Linked DNA regions of Homo sapiens: regions 2, 3 and 4 are each linked to region 1. The links are contacts of gene promoters, found by promoter capture Hi-C in blood cells and fetal thymus (Javierre and others, 2016). All regions are on one chromosome and are shown on one strand. The core of a region is centred on a gene start or on the middle of the fragment in contact, and the rest is flanking DNA. Distances in the headings are between cores, read along the strand shown.

The links. Contacts are between HindIII fragments. The CHiCAGO score rates a contact against its expected background, and 5 or more counts as called.
Region 2: a contact is called between the fragment with the promoter of CNOT2 here and the fragment with the promoter of RXYLT1 in region 1, in 3 of 17 cell types (non-activated CD4 T cells, total CD4 T cells and activated CD4 T cells). The highest score is 9.9, in non-activated CD4 T cells.
Region 3: a contact is called between a fragment that was not itself captured here and the fragment with the promoter of RXYLT1 in region 1, in 4 of 17 cell types (non-activated CD4 T cells, activated CD4 T cells, total CD4 T cells and 1 more). The highest score is 9.7, in non-activated CD4 T cells.
Region 4: a fragment that was not itself captured here is called in contact with the fragment with the promoter of RXYLT1 in region 1 in 2 of 17 cell types (total B cells and activated CD4 T cells); the score reaches 7.0 in total B cells.

Annotation. Positions count from the first base shown.
Region 1 is chr12:63,778,524-63,781,272 of GRCh38, reverse strand. It overlaps RXYLT1 (ribitol xylosyltransferase 1), which reads right to left and starts at 1,364. Exons shown (of 6, transcript NM_014254.3): 1 at 1,144-1,364; 2 at 99-254. The coding sequence starts at 1,312. RefSeq lists silencers at 996-1,295, 1,024-1,299, 1,316-1,545. The HindIII fragment of the contact is 1,854 bases long and covers 557-2,410 here.
Region 2 is chr12:70,242,037-70,244,785 of GRCh38, reverse strand. It overlaps CNOT2 (CCR4-NOT transcription complex subunit 2), which reads right to left and starts at 1,353. Exons shown (of 16, transcript NM_014515.7): 1 at 1,306-1,353. It overlaps PRANCR (progenitor renewal associated non-coding RNA), which reads left to right and starts at 1,426. Exons shown (of 5, transcript NR_120460.1): 1 at 1,426-1,474; 2 at 1,893-1,962; 3 at 2,557-2,605. RefSeq lists enhancers at 624-763, 1,494-1,693, 868-2,067 and silencers at 1,064-1,323, 1,395-1,934. The HindIII fragment of the contact is 4,785 bases long and covers 593-2,749 here.
Region 3 is chr12:69,742,049-69,744,797 of GRCh38, reverse strand. All of the region lies in intron 1 of RAB3IP (RAB3A interacting protein), which reads right to left. Among named protein-coding and RNA genes, the nearest start is that of RAB3IP, 4.6 kb to the right of the region's middle. The HindIII fragment of the contact is 1,122 bases long and covers 850-1,971 here.
Region 4 is chr12:69,585,560-69,588,308 of GRCh38, reverse strand. It overlaps CCT2 (chaperonin containing TCP1 subunit 2), which reads right to left. Exons shown (of 16, transcript NM_006431.3): 2 at 1,965-2,039; 3 at 1,491-1,556; 4 at 693-804; 5 at 303-379; 6 at 47-159. Among named protein-coding and RNA genes, the nearest start is that of CCT2, 1.5 kb to the right of the region's middle. RefSeq lists an enhancer at 2,480-2,749. The HindIII fragment of the contact is 1,624 bases long and covers 553-2,176 here.

The DNA of each region.
Region 1 (2,749 bases), core at 115-2,614:
AACAAATTATGAAATAAATTATATTAAAATGAATTTCATATCAATAAAATACATTTTATAATGCTTTTTACATGTCTTCCTTCTACGTATTAACTTACCAATGGCAGCTTTGCCCCAGATTTGTACACTGAGATCTGTTTTTCCTTTCGTGGATTTATCTAATATTTGAAGGCTAGTTTTAAATCTGTGTTGTTGCTCATTTTTTTCATCTCCTTCCCAAGGATTCCATTCTTCACTTTCCAAAGTGGACTGTTCTGTTTTAAAAAGAGTAAGTGTTTACCAGTAAGGTATTATTGCAGTTGTAGGTAAATTCAAATCATTTAAATTAAGTGTTAGTTCTAATTTCATCCTAACTTTAATTTCTGAGAGGTACAGCAACTGAATTTAAACTGGTAATACACAATGAAAACAAAAAAGAAAATCAGCAATTTTTTTACTGAACTTTTTTTACTCTGAAAAGTCTTAGAAATAAAATGCTACCTTGAGACAGGAAAATTCTCTTCCCCAACACAAAACCTTTAAAAATAACAGGATAATATGTATCAAGTTACAAGCTTAACTTTTGCAATTATTTTTATCCATTGTATACAGGTAACCTATGCACAAAAAACTGACTTCAGAGTGTAGTGTTCACCAGTCTTAGATACTATCGTGCAAAATTCTGAATAAAGGGAAAGAGAAAGCCGAGTCTGATCTTAACACAAGTTAAAACACAGGACAGGGGACCAGAATTTGGAGGTAAAGTCTGCCTTATGGTCACTGCAGGATTAGAGAGGGCTTTGTTTCAACATGGAAACGGATGTCTTAAACCTTGCGGCGATTTTGAGGCCTTCCAGGAGCATTCCCGCAAATCTCTGGCATTTGAGACGACGTCTTGGATTTTAACACGTGTTTGAAAGGCGTGCGCGCCTGTCACCCCCTGGGATCGGGAGCGGGGACGGCGTGTGAGATCTGGGTAAGAATGAGGACCATTCTCCAATTCCGAGCCAAGGGCTGGCTCGAGAGGCTGTAGGGGGCAAAGCGCTTCTCAGGCCCTGCGGGTAATCCCGGACTTGAGAGCCGGGTGCGGGGACCCGGCCCCAGCCGCCCAGCAGCCCCAGCCAGGAGCGCAGAGCCGGAAGGAAGCCGCCGACCCAGTCCTACCTCGGCCGCGTCTCTCCCGCGCGGGGGCCGCCCCCTTCCTGAGGCCCCGCGGGGACCCGGCCGGCGCCTGGCGGCGGCGCCCGAAGAAGACGTGGTAGGCAGCGTAGAGGGAGAATAGGCAGTACAGGGCGATAAGAAACGAGCAGAGCCGCTTCCGCGTCAGCCGCATCCCACTCGGGCTTCCAGTCAGGCATCCACCGCCATGGAGCGGGCGGAAAGAGAATCCGCGACACCGGCGGCGTCCGAGGCAGGCCCAGCCCGTTTCCAGGCAGTCCCCAGCCAAGGCTCCTCCGCCCAGCGCCCGGTACAGCCCCGCCCCGGACACGCCCACCGCCCGCCTCCCGCCCAGGCCCCGCCCCCTCCAGTCGCGGCTCATCCACCCGGCCGAGGGCCTGCCCACCTTCGACACTGGAGGAGGGGGTACTGGAGCGGCCCCTACCCCACGCTGCTTCCAGACGCCGGGCTGAGTGGGAACCTCTCTGACCTCTGCCGTGTACTCATTGCACCTTTCAACCCTGGCCACTTTTCCCAAGTACATAAAGACTCGGGGGAAAAAGAACACCCGCGGTGGTCCATGAAGGCCATGTGAAGGCATGGACTGTGACGTTTTTTGCTCTGCATGGAATCCCTAGCGCCTAGGACAGTGCCTACTACGTTGATAGATGAGTGAATATAAACGTCCTTTAAAAAAATTAAGTGATGATGGTCGCTTAACATTGTGAATGTAATTAATACCACTCACTTGTATGCATAGAAATAGTTAAACTGTCGAATTCATGTTTTATATACCTTACTGCAATAAAAACATTTTTAAAGTTAAGTTTCATTATTATGTGAGTTGAACGCACATAGGCATGCAGTATTTTGTCAAATAGAGGCTGTAAATGTGAATGCTTCAGAAAACTTTGTATCCAGCCTTGGGAAGATGGGCTACAATGTTTTGTCAGTTGCTCTGGTACTACTGTTCAAATTACCCAGCAGTCTTGCGACGGTATGTCTGCTAATTAGGGTGACCAATGGTCCCAGTTTGCCCAGGACTGTAAGGATTCTCCAGTTGGAGGATTTTTAGTGCTAAAATTGAGAAAGTCCTAGGAAATCAGTAAAATTGGTCACTCTAGCACCGACCCTAAACTATTAGGTCAAACACTTTACCCAATCCCCCAAACAGTTCCCTGCCTCAAAAGACCTGTTTTAAACCATTTTTGCTCAGACTCCCCAAATCCTATAAATATCACCCCCAACCTTCTCCTTCTGAGACTGCCAAGCTTCTGTCAAAGTGTGGCCTCCCTTACTGTAGTAGATTTAATAAATTTAGCTTTCCTTGATTAACAGGCTATTCTGGTGTCTTAGGGAGATGGCAGTTGTTTTATGTATGCTGTATTGTTGTTTATCCTATTTTGTTTGTTTGTGGAAATGACAATTATTTAAGGATAGGAAGTAATTACCTTATAATTACCACAAAACACCCACTGTATCAATGTACATTCAGATGCTACTGACTAATGGTTTTACTATTGAGAAATGCATACAAGGTAAAACTAATATGCAGTTGATGTCATCTTGAATAGGGGAGAGGGCCATGAAAATGAAGGAGTTGTTTTACCTC
Region 2 (2,749 bases), core at 104-2,603, 6.5 Mb before region 1:
TGAGTACTTTTTACCATTTCGCCAAGAACTAAGGGTTCAAAGCAGTGTACTTAATTATGAGGAATTGCCCAAACGATTTTAAAAGGAGTGGGATTCTCTGACCAAGACTTTTATGAAAATGAAACAAAATATGTTGCACTCAGTCTTCCGGATGTTGAAAAGTGAAGATGTCTCCAAGGATTCGAAGGAAGTTGATGTTTAGGTTCCCTCTGAGAGGGTGGTACCCTTAATGTAAGACTTTTGTGGTAGTAATACCGTACCTACAGGCCTGGAATAAATATAAGGTCTAAAACCTTGGAAATACTTTGTATAAAAGAAAACTCCAATTCTCTTTTGCTAAGGACCACAGTTACCAAGAGTTATCAGCTTTCACCCGGACAGACAACAGTGCTTCAATGAAGAACTACAAAGGCCTCTTTTAACCCTACTCTTTTCTTCTGTTAAACTTTTAAGCGAGACCTACGACAGCAAAAGGTGGAGAGGCCCCTGCGGAAGTAGAAACCCAGGACTTGCAACTTCACAGACAGAAGCGTCTGTGGTTCCTCCGCCGCCCCAGGATCATCCGGACTCAGTCTACGACACTACGGAAGCTTCACCTTCCTGGTGCGGTGGCAGAGGCGGCATCGCAGTTGCATTCCTTCTCCCTCCACCATGCACAGCCTTCGGTATCCCAGGGCCTGCAGGATCCTGACACCCGTTAGCCAGTCCAGTGTCTCCCATCTGACACTTGCAAACACACTAACAGAAATACACATAACTGGCAGATGATATACGTGTATTGAGAGAAGGTAAGAAGCCACAGACAGCACCAGCTGCCGGGAAGGCGGCAGAGCCGTCTAAAGCGGGCTCGAGCTCGTCGGCCACGGCCACGGCCGCTGCCGCCTTCTCTTCTCCCCCAGGAAGCAGCGCGGCGGCAGCGGCTCCTCCGCGCTGGCGGGAGCCTAGGGGAGTGGAGTCTGGGGAAGCCCCACCACTCGCGGATGGGACCGGGCCTAGGATCTGGAGCTGCTGCTGCTGCAGCGGCCCGAGTACAGCGACGCTTTACGTCCGGTCCACCACCACCCCCATACACACCCCCTCCCTCCCTCCACCGCCGCCACCCCCCTCCCCGCCCGCTCCGCTCTCCGTCTCTCGATTGGAGCCGAGACAAAAGCAACGGGAAGCGGTGGGCCGGGACGCTACCGGCGGACCCTGGGCGCGACCGGACCGGCCCCGGGGCATTCCCCCGCCTTGCGGGGGCCCCGAATCTGCCGCCCCCGCCGCGCGCCCCGCTGCCAGACTTCCGAAAATTTACCAAAAACTCACCGCATGAATTTTCTTGTCCCGCGGATCCAAGATGGCGACGTATCCACCGCGGAGGCTGCTGGGAGCAAGACCTTTACCCTCTGACCGCCGCCGTGACCCCCGTCGCTCCGGCTTCCCTCCAGGCGGCAGCGGAAGGTGGGAGCGACGACTGCAAAACGGCAGCGATGGGGTGGGTAGGCAGGCCGCTTTCAGCGCGCTTCTAACAAGGTGGAGAGAGGCGCTTCACTTCCCTACCGCCCTTACCGCCGCTCCGTCTTGTCTCCCACCGACTCACAGGGAGGCTTGCTGCTCCTCCGCGGCCGTTACAGAGAGCGGGGCTTCTGCGGCCGCTACCGTTTCCCTGGGGCTAGGTTGCTTCGCAGAAGGCTCTGGCCCTGAGTCCGAGGGGGACTGCGGGGTCCAGGGGCGATGAATGGTGAGGTGGCTTCAGTCCGCCCTCCCCGGGGACGCTGAGCGTGTTCGTGTTCGTGTTTGTGTTTGTGTTTGTGTTGGACACCCCCGCCCCCGCACGTCCGCCTCGTCACTCCTCCCCTCCTCACTCCCGCCACCTGGAGCGAATCTGATCGTGTCCCTGTTTCCTCCCTCAGCTCCCGCAACCTCCGGAGCTTGTGCGCGTACTTCAGGGACCGGCACCACGTCACCGTCACCTCCTGAGTAGTGAGTTCCCCTCTGATGAAACCACTGGTGTGTTTACTCACCATCCCCACCATTTTTTTTTCCCCAACCTGATGGAAGGAAGTACATAATGGAGAGCAAGTTTTTAAAGCACGGTCGTGTCGTGTGAACTTGCTCTAGCCAAATTAGGTTTATAGCACTTTTTTTGGCTCTCATTACCTCCAGTCCCCACATAAACAAGAGTGACCAGCTGGGTCATCCGCAAGACCGTTTGAAATTATTGTGGCTTGGGTGGAAACTTAAAGGAGTGAAGTATCTGCTTTCCAGAAAAATCGTTGTCATTCAAAGTGAAATTAAACTTGTTTTCTTTGCAATAATTCGCCTTTATTTCCTTGTATATCTGTAAACTCTTCACTTTTTTGTAATTACTAGACAATTCGGACTTAAAAAGAGCCTCAGCATGTGTATTTTGGAATTGTGTAGCTTCATAATGTGAAAATTATTCTTTTCTATTTGAGTAAAGTACAGTTAATTTGAAGTAAATAAAATTTCTATTTCCATTGGTTGTTTCTTTTAAAAAGTCACCTTTTACTTACAAAAGAATCACTGTAATCCAGTTTACATTTATCATTGAAGGTCAAAAGCAAGAAATAGGAAGAAACACAAGCATACTATAAAATAAAAGGTAACTGTCATGTTTTTGAAGGTAAGGTGTTTTGACATATCAGCAGACATTGTGTGAATTTATTTCAACTCCTAGTGGTACTGGTGTAGGTAGAAAATGTTTTGCTTGGTTATTCATTTCATCAAACACTCTACTTCACTGTTT
Region 3 (2,749 bases), core at 161-2,660, 6.0 Mb before region 1:
AAATTACTCAAATGGTCAATCAGGCTACACAATTTTCCCATTTTTATTATAATAGATCACAAATGAATTCCCACTAATTCCACAATACTTTTTTTTTTTTTTTTTTGAGATGCAGTCTCGCTCTGTCGCCCAGGCTGGAGTGCAGTGGCACAATCTCGGCTCACTGCAACATCTGTCTCCTGAATAGCTGGGATTACAGGCGCCTGCCACCACACCCAGCTAATTTTTTGTATTTTTAGTAGAGATGGGGTTTTGCCATGTTGACCAGGCTTGTCTCGAACTCCTGACCTCAAGTAACTGTCTGCCTCAACCTCCCAAGTGCTGGGACTACAGGTGTGAGCCACCATGCCCGGCCTAATTCCACAACACTTCAATGTACAACCTGACATGTGTAGAGATGTTAGTTATTGCAGTGTGTTATGTTGACAGTTTTCAGAAAATGTTCTGAACTTATGAGCTAATATTATATTTAATTACAAATAATTATTTGTAATAATACAATGAGCTAATATTTAATTACAAATATTTATTTGTAATTAAATATTTATTTAAATTAACAGAACACCGCATGTTCTCACTCATAAGTGGGAGATGAACAATGAGAACACACGGACACAGGGAGGGGAATATCACACACCAGGGCCTGTGGGGGAGTGGCGGGCTAGGGGAGGGATAGCATTAGGAGAAATACCTAAGGTAGATGATGGGTTGACCGGTGCAGCAAACCACCATGGCACGTGTATACCTATGTAACAAACCTGCACATTCTGCACATGTATCCCAGAACTTAAAAGTATAATTTTTTAAAAAAATCATTTTCCAAATTTCTTTTTCTCAATAATGGAAGCTTCATTTTACATATTCTCTTAAGAATATATGCCAACTAAACATTCAACAGGTGCTGAAATACGCACTGACTAAATAAATAAACAAGAGTCTTTAGAGAAGGAATGAATAGCAAAGCGGTAAAGAGTGGAGACAGTTATTCAGGCTACATTTTTGCTGAAAAAGATAGAAATGAAACAGTAAATACTTTGCGAGAGTATCAAAACTGGAGAAATTGAAGTTTGAGAAAACCTGAGCATTTTAACAGACTAACTTCAGAAAACCTTCCTTCTAGTTCAGATTCTGTCACTGACAAGCTGTGTGAACTGACGCAAGTCATTTAATCTCTCTAAGGTTCAGTTTTGACATCTATAATGGTAGTGATATTATCTCCCCTGCCTACATTTGAGAAAATCAAATGGCATATCAATGTAAAAATGTATACATTGTAAAGCACAACATAAATGTATGATTTTATAAAGATCTAAGAAAGAAAAAAATGTAATGGGGGAAATAGCAAAAGCATACTGAGGGGTTTGTCTTACAAATCAGAAGGTATCTTTATTTATCTTAGGTAAAAGGAAAGAAAGGGAAAACTAGTCTTTATGAGGCATGTAGTTCAAATATGATTCTTTTCCCCACAGGGAATTGATACAAATTTGCTTATTGTTTTTTCAAACTTATTTTGGTTTTTCTTTTATACTTTATCCTTATCTGACAACCAGATGCTCCCAAACAAATATTCAATACTATTACTTTTATCTGGGCATATCAAATTACAATTCACTTATTTAAGTGGTTCTAAGCTATCATCTATATGCTCCTTTATGCTCATAGGGCATTCTCACATTCTTGAATAGTTTCTTCATACTAAGCTGTCAATTCATATACTTATTTGTGTATGTATCCATACCCCTCAGAGGAATTTCATCAACTGCCATTATGATTATATTTACAATCCTACTGTTAACGACAAGCATCAAATCTTTCATGAACTTGAACTATTTGAATAATTTTCATTCTTTTTCCTCTAAGTAATATCAGTTTACGGCTATAGTTATCTAATTTCGTGTTGCCCTATATTCTAAGATAAATCAGATTACTTTTTCCACTTTTCTCTAACCATGACTATGTACGATGTAAGCTTATAAAACTACCTCATTTAGTGGTAAGTTGAAAAGGAAAGCAGAAGGGAAAATAGAGATAGCAAGTTAATGCTCCCAGTTGTATAAATATCTTCCTCTTCCTTCCTTTGTCCCTTCATTTCTCAATGTTCATTTCAATTTCTACTGCTAGAGCAGCTTCAAAACATCCTAACATTCTTCAACTGATCATCCATCACCAAACACAGCACAGTACTTACCTGGCCCGATGTTAAAGCTATAAAATGAGGTAAGCCCTACTCTCGAAGCACTTGTAGACTAGAGGAAGAGACCACCTTGCCAATAAACATGTTTCTAGGGCCCTAGAAACAATTACAAATACAACACAAATATCAAAGTTCATAAATACCAAAAAAGAGGTACTCAGTATTATAAAAGCATAAAATTTTTAAAAAGAGTACCATCTGGTACAACTAAGGATAGTAGCATAAAAAAGGAGAAACAAGCTAGAAAGCAGTTTACAAAAGCTCAGATATTTTGTTTTTAGGATATCAAATGCGTAGTAACCAATTTACTATCCTTTGATGAACTGCATCTTAATCAGAATTATATCGGAAAAAAGTTTAGTGTGAAAAAGCGTACTCCCTTGGAATATCTTCAAAGCTTTCCCTCATTACCTCAATGCACAAATATCTCTACCCACTATCCATCTGTCCTTCCTCTCCACTACTCAACTATCCTAGCACTTTGTCTTAGTTGACATTCATTAAAATATGTAAAGTGCGTTCTACATTTTGAAGAACTTATAAAAGATATGGGAA
Region 4 (2,749 bases), core at 115-2,614, 5.8 Mb before region 1:
GAAAGAACACTAAATGTTTAGAACAGTAGTACTTTGCTATACAAACCCATGATCAACTGCAGAACTCAACAGCGCCTCTCTTGCAGCCTTCGTGGCTTCTCTCCAACCCGCTATGATGGTCTGTGGATGAATCTTTTTTGCAATTAAAGATTCTGCTTCCTATTAATAAAGTTATAAAACAAAAGTTATAAATAGAAAATTATTAAGCACTCCTCAATAGTAAAGACAGAGGAAGTAAGGACTAGATTACCTCTGATACTCAAAAACACAGTAGGAAAAAAGAGTTGCTTAGTTGCTCTTACCCTTAATAATTCTGCTGCTAAAACGGTAACAGAGGTAGTGCCATCACCAACTTCATCATCTTGAACCCTTGACATATCTAGAAAAAGAAATTAGTTATTAACTCAAAATTGCTTCTTTGCTTACTAAATTCTCCAAAAATATTCACTACCAATCTAAACTTACCAGGGTTCCTCATTCAACAAATTATTTGGAACTCTGAGGTCTGAAATGCAACAGTTTTACCACCAACATACGGGCACTCCTGAAGCTTGTATTTTAACAACGATAATTAACAACTAGTGGACATCAATTGACAGTACGATTGGTCAACACAGCCTATTTATAAAGTTATTTCAAAAATGTTAACAAACAGTATTATTAGGTTGGTGAAAAAGTATATTCAGACTTACCAACTAAAACTTTAGCTGCTGGATTGTCAACACCAATGTTTTTTAGAATAGTGGCACCATCATTGGTTACCATAAGAGAGGCATCTCGTCCACTGCTTAGAAGAATTTTGTCCTAAAGGGAACATAATTGGTTCAAGTTAAGACATAAGCACATCTTGAAGAATGCATGGATCAATCAGTATTCTCACACAGTGCTAGTGTATAAACACTCTGGATAGCTATTTTGTGGTATCCATTCATCAAATGTTTTCAATACATACACCACGTAACCAAACCATGTATCTACCCCTAGAAACACTAGAAGCACAGGTAGACACTAGTTTTTGTTTCAACACCGTAACTGCAAAAACAATGGAAAGAAACTATCAATACAGCCATAATTAAATTATAAAATAATTAAGGTACAGGATAATATTTGACAGTTAAAGGGGCAGTGTTATCTACTTACACTGAAAGGAATTTAAAAGAGCAAGCTACAAAAAAGTATTGATAAATAGTATCTGTTTTATAAAACAGTATGTTACATGAGTATAAAATACATAATGAAGTACACATACTTCTACATAAACAGAATATTAGAAGATGTACGTGCAAATGATAACAGTACTTGTCATTGGGGAGGGGCATGGGATTGGGGATGGTGATTCTGGGGACTCTGATTTTTACTAAGGAGAACATACTTGTCTTTTATAATTAAACGTTTTAAAGATTAAAAAGCATTTTAATACGCTTGTTATTATATTTCCACCAAGCGCTCTAAAACAATATTAAAATATAAAACTTTTCTATTTTTCTTACCATGCCTTTGGGTCCCAAGGTGCTCTTTACCAAGTCTCCAATGGCGATGGCACCAATAAAAGAAGTCTGGAGTAAAAACCAAGGAGATTATCAGAATCAACTTTACAGTCTTCAAGTACAGTTTTATCTTTATTTACTTTTTTTTTTTTTTGAGGCAGAGTGTCGCTCTGTCGCCCAGGCTGGAGTGCAATGGCGCGATCTCAGCTCACTGCAACCTCCGCCTCCTGGGTTCAAGCGATCCTCCTGCCTCAGCCTCCCGAGTAGCTGGGATTACAGGTGCCCATCACCACGCCCGGCTAATTTTTGTATTTCTAGTAGAAACGGGGTTTTACCATGTTGGCCAGGCTGGTCTCGAACTCCTGACCTCAGTTCATCCGCCTACCTCGGCCTCCCAAAGTACTGGGATTACAGGAGTAAGCCACCGCGCCTGGCCTCCAGTTTTATCTTTAAAACAATGCTTAGAACAAGGCTTACCAGACGAGCTGTCTCTGCTCTCTCTTCATCAGCTCCTGCCTTAAAGATGTTAACAGGTGCAAGGGAAAGGGACGCCTGAAAAGGAAAACCAAGAGGCATTCCGTTTAAGTACCAATACTCTAACACATACACTGAGGTGCCTTCCACTAGTCTTACAAGTGGACATCTAAGAGAAAACTCATTTACAACAATGTTTTCAATCAAATGAAGCTTCCATCATCGGAGAAAGCATTTAAGTGGGAGAGAGGGACTTGTAGGAGAGCGACATGGCTTTTCGGATTTACAAGGCCCCCGGGAGTATAAATTATACACCAGCGAGATTGACAGTTACGTACAGCGAGACTAAAGACGATCTTGAACTAAGAATGAGGCAGGGAGGGGTTGCAGGCCATCAAGGTGACGCCTGCCGGGCGGGCGAGGGAACGCGGCCTCCATCTTCCACCCTCGGAAGGCTGCGGCCCCTCCACCCTCTGATGGCTCAGACCCCGTCGCTCCAGGCTCCGCCCCTAGAAGGAGGGCGGAGCGGGTCCCACACTAGAAATTTCTTCGCTCCGGGTGAGGCGCGGACCTGGGCTGCCGGGACTATGCAAAGACCTAGGCACAAGGAGACGCTGGCTTTGCGGTCCACCCCTCCCCCTCGTGGTGAGCTCCACCGGCTGGCCTGGCGCAGGCCGCACGCCCCGCGCATGGCTCGCACCATGTGCGGAGGGCCGGGGAGACAGAAACGGAGCCTACGACCCTAGCAGGACAGAGGAAGCAGTGGGGTGGCAAGAGCACGGCGGAGC